2 separate regions of the Homo sapiens genome follow, and region 1 is linked to region 2. The links are contacts of gene promoters, found by promoter capture Hi-C in human tissues and cell types (Jung and others, 2019). All regions are on one chromosome and are shown on one strand. Each heading gives the region's core, a stretch centred on a gene start or on the middle of the fragment in contact. The rest is flanking DNA. Distances are from core to core; before and after follow the strand shown.

Region 1 (4,532 bases), core at 1,442-3,941, 490 kb before region 2:
AAAAGTTACAAAGTGTCAGCCAGGTTTGGTGGCTCACACCTGTAATCCCAGAACTTTGGGAGGCCGAGGTAGGTGCATCACCTGAGATCAGGAGTTCAAGACCAGCCTGGCCAACATGGTGAAACCCCGTCTCTACTAAAAATCCAAAAATCATTTGGGTGTGGTGGTGCACGCCTGTAATCCCAGCTACTCAGGAGGTTGAGGCAGGAGAATTGCTTGAACCCACGAGGCGGAGGTTGCAGTGAGCCAAGATCACACCATTGCACTCCAGCCTGGGCAACAAGAGGGAAACTCCATCTCAAAAAAAAATCAAAAATACAAAGTGTCACAGAGAGAGGAGGAATAAGTTTTGAGATCTACTGCACAACAGGGTGGCTCTTGTCAATCATATATGTCATATACGGTCATGTGAATAACAACATTTTGGTCAGCAGTGGACCACGTATATGATGGGGGTCCCAAAAGATTGTAATGGAGCTGCTGTATATAGGTGTACTATTTTTTATCTTTTATACCATATTTTTACTGTACCTTTCCTATGTTTAGATATGTTTAGATTTACAAATACTTACCATTCACTACAGAAGCATGTTGTACAGGTTTGTAGTCTAGGAGCAATAGGCTCTACCATATAGCCTAAGTGTGTAGTAGGCTGTATCATCTAGGTTTGTGTGAGTTCACTCCATGATGTTCACACAACAATGAAATTACCTAACAATGCACTTCTCAGAATGTCACCCTGTCGTTAGGTGACTTGTGACTGTATTTCAATAATTAAGACAGTAAGTTTCAAACATCTCACCACAAAAAAAAAAAAAAAAGGCAAATGAAGTGAGGGATATGTTAATTCACTTGATTTAATTATTTCACATTGTATACATGTATGAAAACATCACACTGTACTCCATAAATGTATATAATTATGATTTGTCAGTCAAAGTCATTTTAAAAAGAAGTGGGGAGAAGAGCATTGCAGGCGGAGGGAACAGCACGTACAAGGTTCCGGAGGTGGGAAATCTTACCACCAAGCCAAATGGCTTCATAATACAAGGGAATGTGGTCCAGAGAAGAAAGGATGGACTCAAAGTTACACCAAGCATCAGTGTCAGGGTCAGGAAGAGAAACCGAGCCAGGGGATACCCTGGCTCGAGCCACCACTCCTGCAGAGTGGCCGCATGCCCTGGTTCAGCTCCAGCAACCCCAGGACTCTGCACTCCACCTAACCCTGCCTCAACCTCCATGGTTCAGCGTTTTCATGCTGCCTCCCTGAGCCTCAGTCTTCCCATCTCTAAAATGGGGTTGTTTTCACCTAGAAAGATGGCCGTGGTAACACAAGGTAGCCCTCCCCAGCCCCACACCTGGCACATAGAACATACCAAGTTCACATGTTCATGCTCTCTGTTTGTCCCCTTCCCTTGTTGCAAGTGAGCATGCACCCTGTGCAGTAGGGTGCAGTAGGGTCTTCCCTACTGAGGACAGAACTCACCTGGAGCCCTGGTAACCATATGGCAGCCTCGCGGCCCCTCCCAGGAGGTTCAGGTTCAGCGGGGCTGGCTGGGGCTGCAGCACTGTGGTTTTTACAAGTTCCTAGGTGACTCTCGCCATCAGGAGACAGAGGAGCCCTGCTGAGTGGGATGGAGTCACACAGACTCTGGTGGGATGGTGGATCAGTATCTGCCTCACTGTGTGGCTTTGAAAAATCAAAGATGCTACTATTCCAGAGGGAGCACTGGATGAGATTTCAGGCTCCCACCCTCCAGTCCAAGAACAGAGTAGGTGCTCAGCCAATTGTGTTATTGTGGGACACTCAGCAATGGATGCAGGCAAGGGGGACCAGGAGGAAGGCCCCCCCAGTAGGCACACAGCAAGCCAGGGTTGGCCCTCCACCTGACCTTTGGGTCAGTTAGGTCCTGCCAGGAGATAAAGGGTCCCAGCAGTGGGGTGCAAAGCTTTAGGTCAAGGCATTCCCCCAACGGGGAGCCTTAGTACTTGGAAGGGAAACTGACCACAACACAAAACAACAGCTGCCCCCATTTCTGACTCCTGGTGTGTGATCCGTGCATCCTAGCAGGTGCCTTGCCAACACCCTCTCCTTTAAGCCCATTGCGGGTTGCAAGGCAAGATGCATGATGGCTGCATGGACCATGAGCCCTCGGCACTTTTGCCTTCGTGGGCCCCTTCCTCCCTAAAACAAAGATTATACTTTATCTGCTGAGCGCAGTAGCTCACACCAGTAATCCCAGCACTTTAGGAAGCCCAGGCAGGTGGATCACTTGAGGTCAGGAGTTCAAGACCAGCCTGGCTAACATGGTGAAACCCATCTCTACTAAAAAGACAAAACTTAGCTTGGCATGATAGCATGCACCTATAATCCCATCTACTGGGGAGGCTGAGGCAGGAGACTCACTTGAACCTGGGAGGCGGAGGTTGCAGCGAGCTGAGACCACACCACTGCACTCCAGCGTGGGAGACAAAGAGAGACTCCATCTCAAAAATATTAAATTAAATTAAAAAATAAAGATTATACTTTATGCTTTTTGGTATAAACCCATATACAACTAAGCCTGGCTTATATTTATTTTTTTCTTCTGATTTTAAAATAAATTAGAATATTTTTGTATGTCCCTGTATTCACTTTTTTTTTTTTTCAGTTTTTATTTATATTTTTGTTTTTTAGAGACAGAGTCTCGCAATGTTGCCCAGGCTGGAGTGCAGTGACACAATCATAGCTCACTGTAACCTCGAACTCCTGGGCTCAAGTGATCCTCCTGCCTCAGCCTATCTAGTAGCTGGGACTACAGGCACATGCCATCCTGTTGGGCTAATTGTTTAAAGCTTTTTTAGAGATGGGGGTCTCACTATGTTGCCCATGCTGGACCTGGCCTCAAGTGATCCTACTGCCTCAGGCTCCCAAGGTCCTGCTGTTTGCCACTGCACCCAGCCTGTATTAGTTTCTTCTTGCTGCTATGACAAGCTACCATAAATTTAGTGGCTTAAAACAATGCAGATGTATGACTTCATAATTCTGGAGGTGAGAAGTCCGCAATGGGTGTCCCTAGGCTAAAACCAAGGTGTTGGCAGGGCTGCATGCCTTTCAGGATGCTCTATGGGAGAATCCACTTCCTTGCCTTTTCCTGCCACATTCCTTGGCTTGTGGACCTTTCCTCCCTCTTCCTACACATTACTTACATTACACACATTCTTACCTCCCTCTTTACATTACACACATTCTTACCTCCCTCTTTACATTACACACATTCTTACCTCCCTCTTCTTACACATTACTTACATTACATTACATTCTGACATTACTGTGATACTCAGTCTCCGTCTCCCTCTTCCACATTCTAGGACCCTTGTAATCACTTTGGGCATCCCAGGAAAATCTCTCTATTTAAGCTCATCTAATCAGCAACCTTAATTCCACATACAGCCTTCATTCCCATTTGCCATGTGGCATAACATTGTCAGTTTCCAGAGATTGAGATGCGGACCTCTTCACGGGCCATTATTCTGCCAACCGCATCCCTTAAAAGTAGCTTGGGTCCTAGGAACTGTGTTTCCTGTGCCTAAAATGCATACATTGGTCCTGGGCATTACTATTCCCCTTTATAGCTGAGAAAACTGAGGCTCAGAGAGTGGAAGCAATTCACCCAACGTCACACAGCCAGGAACCATGGAGCTAAAATGCCAGCTTCACCTTGCCTTGTTCTGAAGCCAGGGGTGGGGTGGGTGGCTGTGGTCAGGGTTCTGGGGAAGGTCACACTGGGGGACCAAAGTCATCTGCACCAACAGGCACAGCACCTGGGAGGGCCTGGGTTTGGTGGAGAGGGGAAGTGCTGGATGGCAGAGGTTGCCCCATTCCCTTCTGCCAAGGCTCCCAGTACTCAAGCAGGGAGGCAGCGCCTGCAGGCACCGCGCAGCAAGCAGGGGAGAGCCAGGGAGTGTTCCAAGGCTTCGTGATTCACAGCCCAGCAGATGCTTCCCTGAACCAATATGCTAATTCTTCACAAAACAGATTCATTTATCTGACATTTATGACCGGAGACAGAAATCATGTTGGGGGAAATGTATCACTTTTCAAATTCACATTTGTTTCTTCCTCATCACCTACCAGCAAGCAGATGGGGCAGAGAGTTATTTATTTGAGGTTCCTGTTAACCGATAACTAAGTCACTAACACACTACGAAAATCAAATGCAATTACGCAAGAAGAGACGCTGGAGACCCCAGTGTGCCCACAGAGCCCAGAGAGGCCAACAGTGGCGGGGGGCGCTGGGGAGGGAGTACGTCCAGTAGAAGTCAACTGAACTCTGAGCCTGGGAATTGGGAAAGTGACAATAGATGTTCCCAGGGCCACAGCAGGACACAAGCATGGTGAGGAAGGGGAAGGACCCAAGACTTGAGGGCAGGGCCCCCAAAAGCTGATTAACCCACCTCCCAGAATAGTAACACTGGCTGCTTACAGTGTGCCTACTAGGTGCTGGACATCTGGCAGACAGCTTCTTCGTTAACCTCCACGGTGGGACAGC
Region 2 (4,725 bases), core at 829-3,328:
AAGGGTGGCTGGCTTCTCTGGGAGACAGAAGGTCCAGGCCTCACCCAGAAGCATGCCTTTGTCTTCTTGATCTGTAGATGCCATTTCCAGCTTGGAGACCTGGGGCCTTGACAGTGTTGGATTCTCTGTCACATCTGGTCTTGGGGGCTACTTATCTCTGTCATAAGTCCCCTGCCCCACCCTAGGGTCATATTTATATTAAGGATCCCTTCCTGCTCCTGGATCAGAGAGGGCCATCTTCGCAGGCCTGGGCAGTCACTGACATTGGCCCACCCAACCAGTTATCAATTAATCTCCATAGCTCTATCTGAGGATCTGGGGTTCAGGGCCTGGGAGAGGGAAACTGAGACAGACACAGAGATGAAGGGGAGCCAGGCAGACAAGATGGCAGATTCCTGTACAAGGTCAGCCAAGAGCAGGGCCTGAAAGAGTGTCTCTATTCAAGATCTGGACAGCAGACATTGTACTAGTGGCTGTTCGACTCCTGCTGAGTACAGGACCCCGGGTGGGATCATTTATCTGTCCTTCCATCCACCCCTCTGTTTGTCTTTCCAAAACTGCCTGCTGAGGACTAGCCAGAGACAAGCCCTCTCCCTGGCACAAGGCCACGTGCTAAGATGAATCAGATTGGGCCGGCTGGAGCCAGTGGGTGGAAGACAGAGGACGCACCAGGTGGAGGGCACAACAACGACCAGGGCTCGTGGGTGGGAAAATACTGGGCCAAGGCAGGCACTGGGGTTGAGTGCAGGGTGGAGGGTCTGAGCTCCCAGGGGGTGTACTGAAGGTTATGGGGAGGTCAGGAGAGGAGGGACAAACAGCAGGCTATGGAGGGACAAAGCAGAGTCCCTGAAGAAAGGAGGAAGCAGTAGACAAAATAACAGGGAGGGTGGAAGTCAGAGCCTCAGACTTAGCTCCATGGGGAAGCCACCTGGTGTCTGCCTGTCTTCAGGCCCATTGGTTGATGCCACTCCTTCTCACTCCCCCTTGGGGGATCTGGTTCCACCTGGGCCAAGGGTTCACATTGCCATTCCTGTCCCTGCATCTACCCCAGGGTTCCCGGACCCCCACACTCACAGCACACCCTTGTACCCAGCACCAAGGAGAAATGGTAAAGACCCCAGTGTCAGGCCAGGAGTGGTGGCTCACTCCTCTAATCCCAACACTTTGGGAGGCCAAGGCGGGTGGATTACTTGAGGCCAGAAGTTCAAGACCAGCCCAGGCAACATGGTGAAACCCCCATCTCTACAAAAAACACAAAAATTAGCTGGATGTGGTGGCACACACCTGTAATCCCAGCTACTTGGAAGGCTGAAGCAGAAGAATCACTTGAATCAAGGAGGTGGAGGTTGCAGTGAGCTGATATAGCACCAGCCTGGGTGACAGAGCAAGACTCTGTCTAAAAACAAACAAGCAAACAAACAAACAAACAAACAAATCCCACAAAACCCCCAGTGTCTGGAGTAAGAACCCCAGCTAATGAACCCTTTACCCCCTGGCTAGATGACCTTGGGCAAGTCACTTCACTTCTCTGGGCCTCACTCCCCTCCTCTGTCAGATAGGGCTGATGGAAGCACCCAACCTTGTAGGGTAACAGAGAGGGTTATACCATAGGAAGGACCCAAAGCTTGGTCCAGCGCCTGCAACAGCCTCTGGCAAACAGTGGAAGCTCCAGTTTTGGACACTTGATGGTCAGTGTAGTTTGCAGTTTAAAGGGGACTTTCCAACCCCAAAAGATTCAGGACCCAGAGCTCAGGTCTCTGGTGGTGGCATTTGCAGGTCTGGGGCAAGCCTAGGGAAGGGACGCCATGTGCGGCACGGGCATCTAGTGTCCCAGAGTCCGCACGGGTTGCTGGGGGAAAAAGAGGGATAGTCGCCCAGCCAGGGCAGGGGTGGGAGTTGGGGGGAGAGGGTTACTTCCTCCTGCCCTGAATCTCCGCTCGGGGTTCAACTGGCTCGCCGGCGGGCGAGGGCGGGGCAGGCCGGCCTCTCTGGCCCTGCTGGGGGGTGGGGGGCGGGTCCCCCGGGAACTGCTCCTCCCGCCAGCCGCTGCTTTAAGAGGCTGCTCCGCGGTAGCGAGCGGGGCCGGAGCCGCAGCCCGAACGAGCGGACCGAGCCGACCGGGCAGGTGCACGGCTGCGGGGACGGCAGCGGCATGACCGGCCACCACGGCTGGGGCTACGGCCAGGACGACGGTAGGCACAGACCTCCCCCACCGCCTCTGGCTCGGACCCCCGACCCAACTGCACTCGCCCCAACCCTCTTGCCCAGCTGGTTTCCCAGACCGGAAAGCTCCCACACTCCAGGCTGGGCGGGACCCCTCTTCCCATCCCGGCCCCCGAACTTGGCCCAAGCCTTGGTCCCCCGCGCCAGACGCAAAGTCCGCGCTGCGCCCCGGGTGGCCCCGCCGCCAGCAAGCGACCTGGCGGCTGTGTCCTGCCGCCTCCTCCGCGAAGCCCCTGATTGCCCAGCCCGCTCAGACCCAGGCCCAGACTCTCACTCACTCGCCCCGGGCGTGCGCAGCGCGTGGGGGTGGCCCAGGGCAGCGGGGGGCGGGCGCCGCGGAGCGCTGTGCGCGGGTGTCTGCGGGGAGCGCGCACGGCAAGTGAGCGGGGACCTCGGGGGAGCGGGGCTCCGCGTGGCAAGGGCGCAGTGTCCCCCGGAGAGAATTTCCCCGCAGAAGTGGCCGAGCTGCCTTCTCGGCCGGTACGTGAGGGAAGGGGGCACTTGGGGGCGCAAGCATGTGTCTGGGTGTCTACACCGAGCAGGGTGTTTGCGCACGTCCGGGTGTGAGTCGTGGGAGCCCGTGGCCCACACCAGCCTCCTGGGCTGACGCGGAAGAGAGCTCCTTCATCCTGCCTCAGTTTCCTTAGGACTCAGAGAAAGGGAGAAGAGGCAGAAGGTGAGAGCCAGACGGCTGGAGTGTGGGTCTGGGGCAGTCAATTCCCTTTGGGGCCATTTCTTACCAAGCAGGGGTGGGGGTGTGGGGTAAGGGGTTCCCTATTTCCCTGGGGAGCCAGTGCAAGACAGGTGGGGTGCGGAGAAGAAAAAGTAATGATGGGAGGAACATCCCCCAGCCCCACTCCTCTGCGGAGAGGCAGTCACTTTGTGAGGTTGGGTGGGGGACCACAGTCTGGGAAGCCAGAAAGTTGCAGTAGACCAGAGGGAGGGTGCTGTGGAGTCTTTGGCTCCCTCTGGGGCCCCAAGAACAAAGGAGCATATTTTGGAAGAGAACCCCCAGATCTGGGTATGCAAGAGCTGGAAAGAGACATTCAGAAAAAGATGATATAGACAAGCAGAGAGGGAGAGACAGGCAGACATGGGGCAGATGGACAGGACCCATAGGGATCATCTTCTCCCAGCACCTGCTCTGAGCCACCTTTTGGGTGCTTCCCCCAGAGCCAGAGTCCCCTGCCTCCAGCTCTTCTTGCTAGTCATGCCCACCAGCTCTGAGCACCCAGTGTCCTGTGTAGCCTGCTCCATGGGCCTGCTCCCCCAAAGCAGCCACCCCATCACCCAGGCAGAGCTGGATTGTCCAGTCGAGGAAGGGAAGGACAGAGGACAGAGGTGCCGGCATGCAGCAGTGTTCACAGGGCTTCAAAAATAACCCAGAGGGGCCGGGCCACGATTCTGAGTCATCCATTGGGGACACGGCTCTGTCGGCACCTGCTGCTGTTTTCTCAGGAAAACTTAAGAAGCCAAAAAGGGGGAGAAGCACCAGCCGGCAGTAGCTCTAAAAATAGGCTGCATCTCAGGATGTTCCCCAGGGAGATGCTGAGCCTCTCGGCTGCAGATGGATCCTCTGGGAGGCAGGTGGTGGGCGCCTGTGGGTGTGTATGCAGGTGTGTGTGTGTGTGTGTGTGTGTGTGTGCATGGGCATGTGTTTTGCTGTGGTCCTTTATGCAAACTTGGGTCTCCAACAGAGGGGTTTGTGTGTGAGAGAGCATATGCGTGTGTCAGATGTAGTCTGCAGGGCTGTGTGTGTGTTTGTACACATGAATGTTCTGGGCCTGGCTGCTCTGTGTGCACAATGGAAGATCATAGAAAGATTAATGTGTTCATAGGAAGATCTCTATGGACTTGCAGGCACACACATTGGGAGGGCAGCTGGGGGCAGTGCATGCACATGCTGTATTTATATTAGTACATATGCATGCACACATGTGTGAGTGGCCCTCAGTTCCCTCATCTGTGAAATGGGGATCTTGCTGGTTTCTATTTCACAAGGTGGTTGTGAGAGGCAAATACATGTCACAGAGTCAAAGCTAGGTTGATGTGAGTTTTTGTTGTTATTTATCACAAACACCAACACCAAATTGCCCAAGGCACAGAAAGAGGTGAGATACTGATGGGGTCAGGTCAGAGACTTCAGATGTCTGGAGGTCTCCCTGTTGGGGAGACTTATTACTCTGAGCCACCCCGAGCCTGTAGCTGTTATGTTCCCTTCCATACAGTACCTCTCTGGGCCTCCTATCAGCACTGGAAGGTGAGTTTTAGTGAGACCATTTCACAGACAAAGAAATGGAGGCTGAAAGGGGAAATGGCAAAGCTGGGATTGGAACTCCAAGCTGTGCAGCTCCAATGCAGGGGCTCACCTCTGAAAGGATGCTGAAGAGACCATTCCCCTATGGGTGTCCTCGGCCTGAAGCCCAGAGATCCTGGCTGGCCTGAGTCCTTGCCCTCCTCCCCACCTGCAGGCCCCTCGCATTGGCACAAGCTGTATCCCAT

Evidence for each region. The method cuts DNA at HindIII sites, captures the fragments that hold promoters and counts their contacts. A contact is called where the count stands out against the background at its distance.
Region 1: a contact is called between a fragment that was not itself captured here and the fragment with the promoter of CA7 in region 2, in 2 of the 25 tissues and cell types used here (lymphoblastoid cells and spleen).

Annotation. Positions count from the first base shown.
Region 1 is chr16:66,349,306-66,353,837 of GRCh38, forward strand. No RefSeq gene overlaps it. Among named protein-coding and RNA genes, the nearest start is that of CDH5, 15 kb to the right of the region's middle. The HindIII fragment of the contact is 4,941 bases long and covers 222-4,532 here.
Region 2 is chr16:66,842,336-66,847,060 of GRCh38, forward strand. It overlaps CA7 (carbonic anhydrase 7), which reads left to right and starts at 2,079. Exons shown (of 7, transcript NM_005182.3): 1 at 2,079-2,192; 2 at 4,695-4,725. The coding sequence starts at 2,153. All of the region lies in intron 3 of LOC124903699 (a long non-coding RNA gene), which reads right to left. RefSeq lists an enhancer at 2,007-2,508. The HindIII fragment of the contact is 13,624 bases long and covers 1-4,725 here.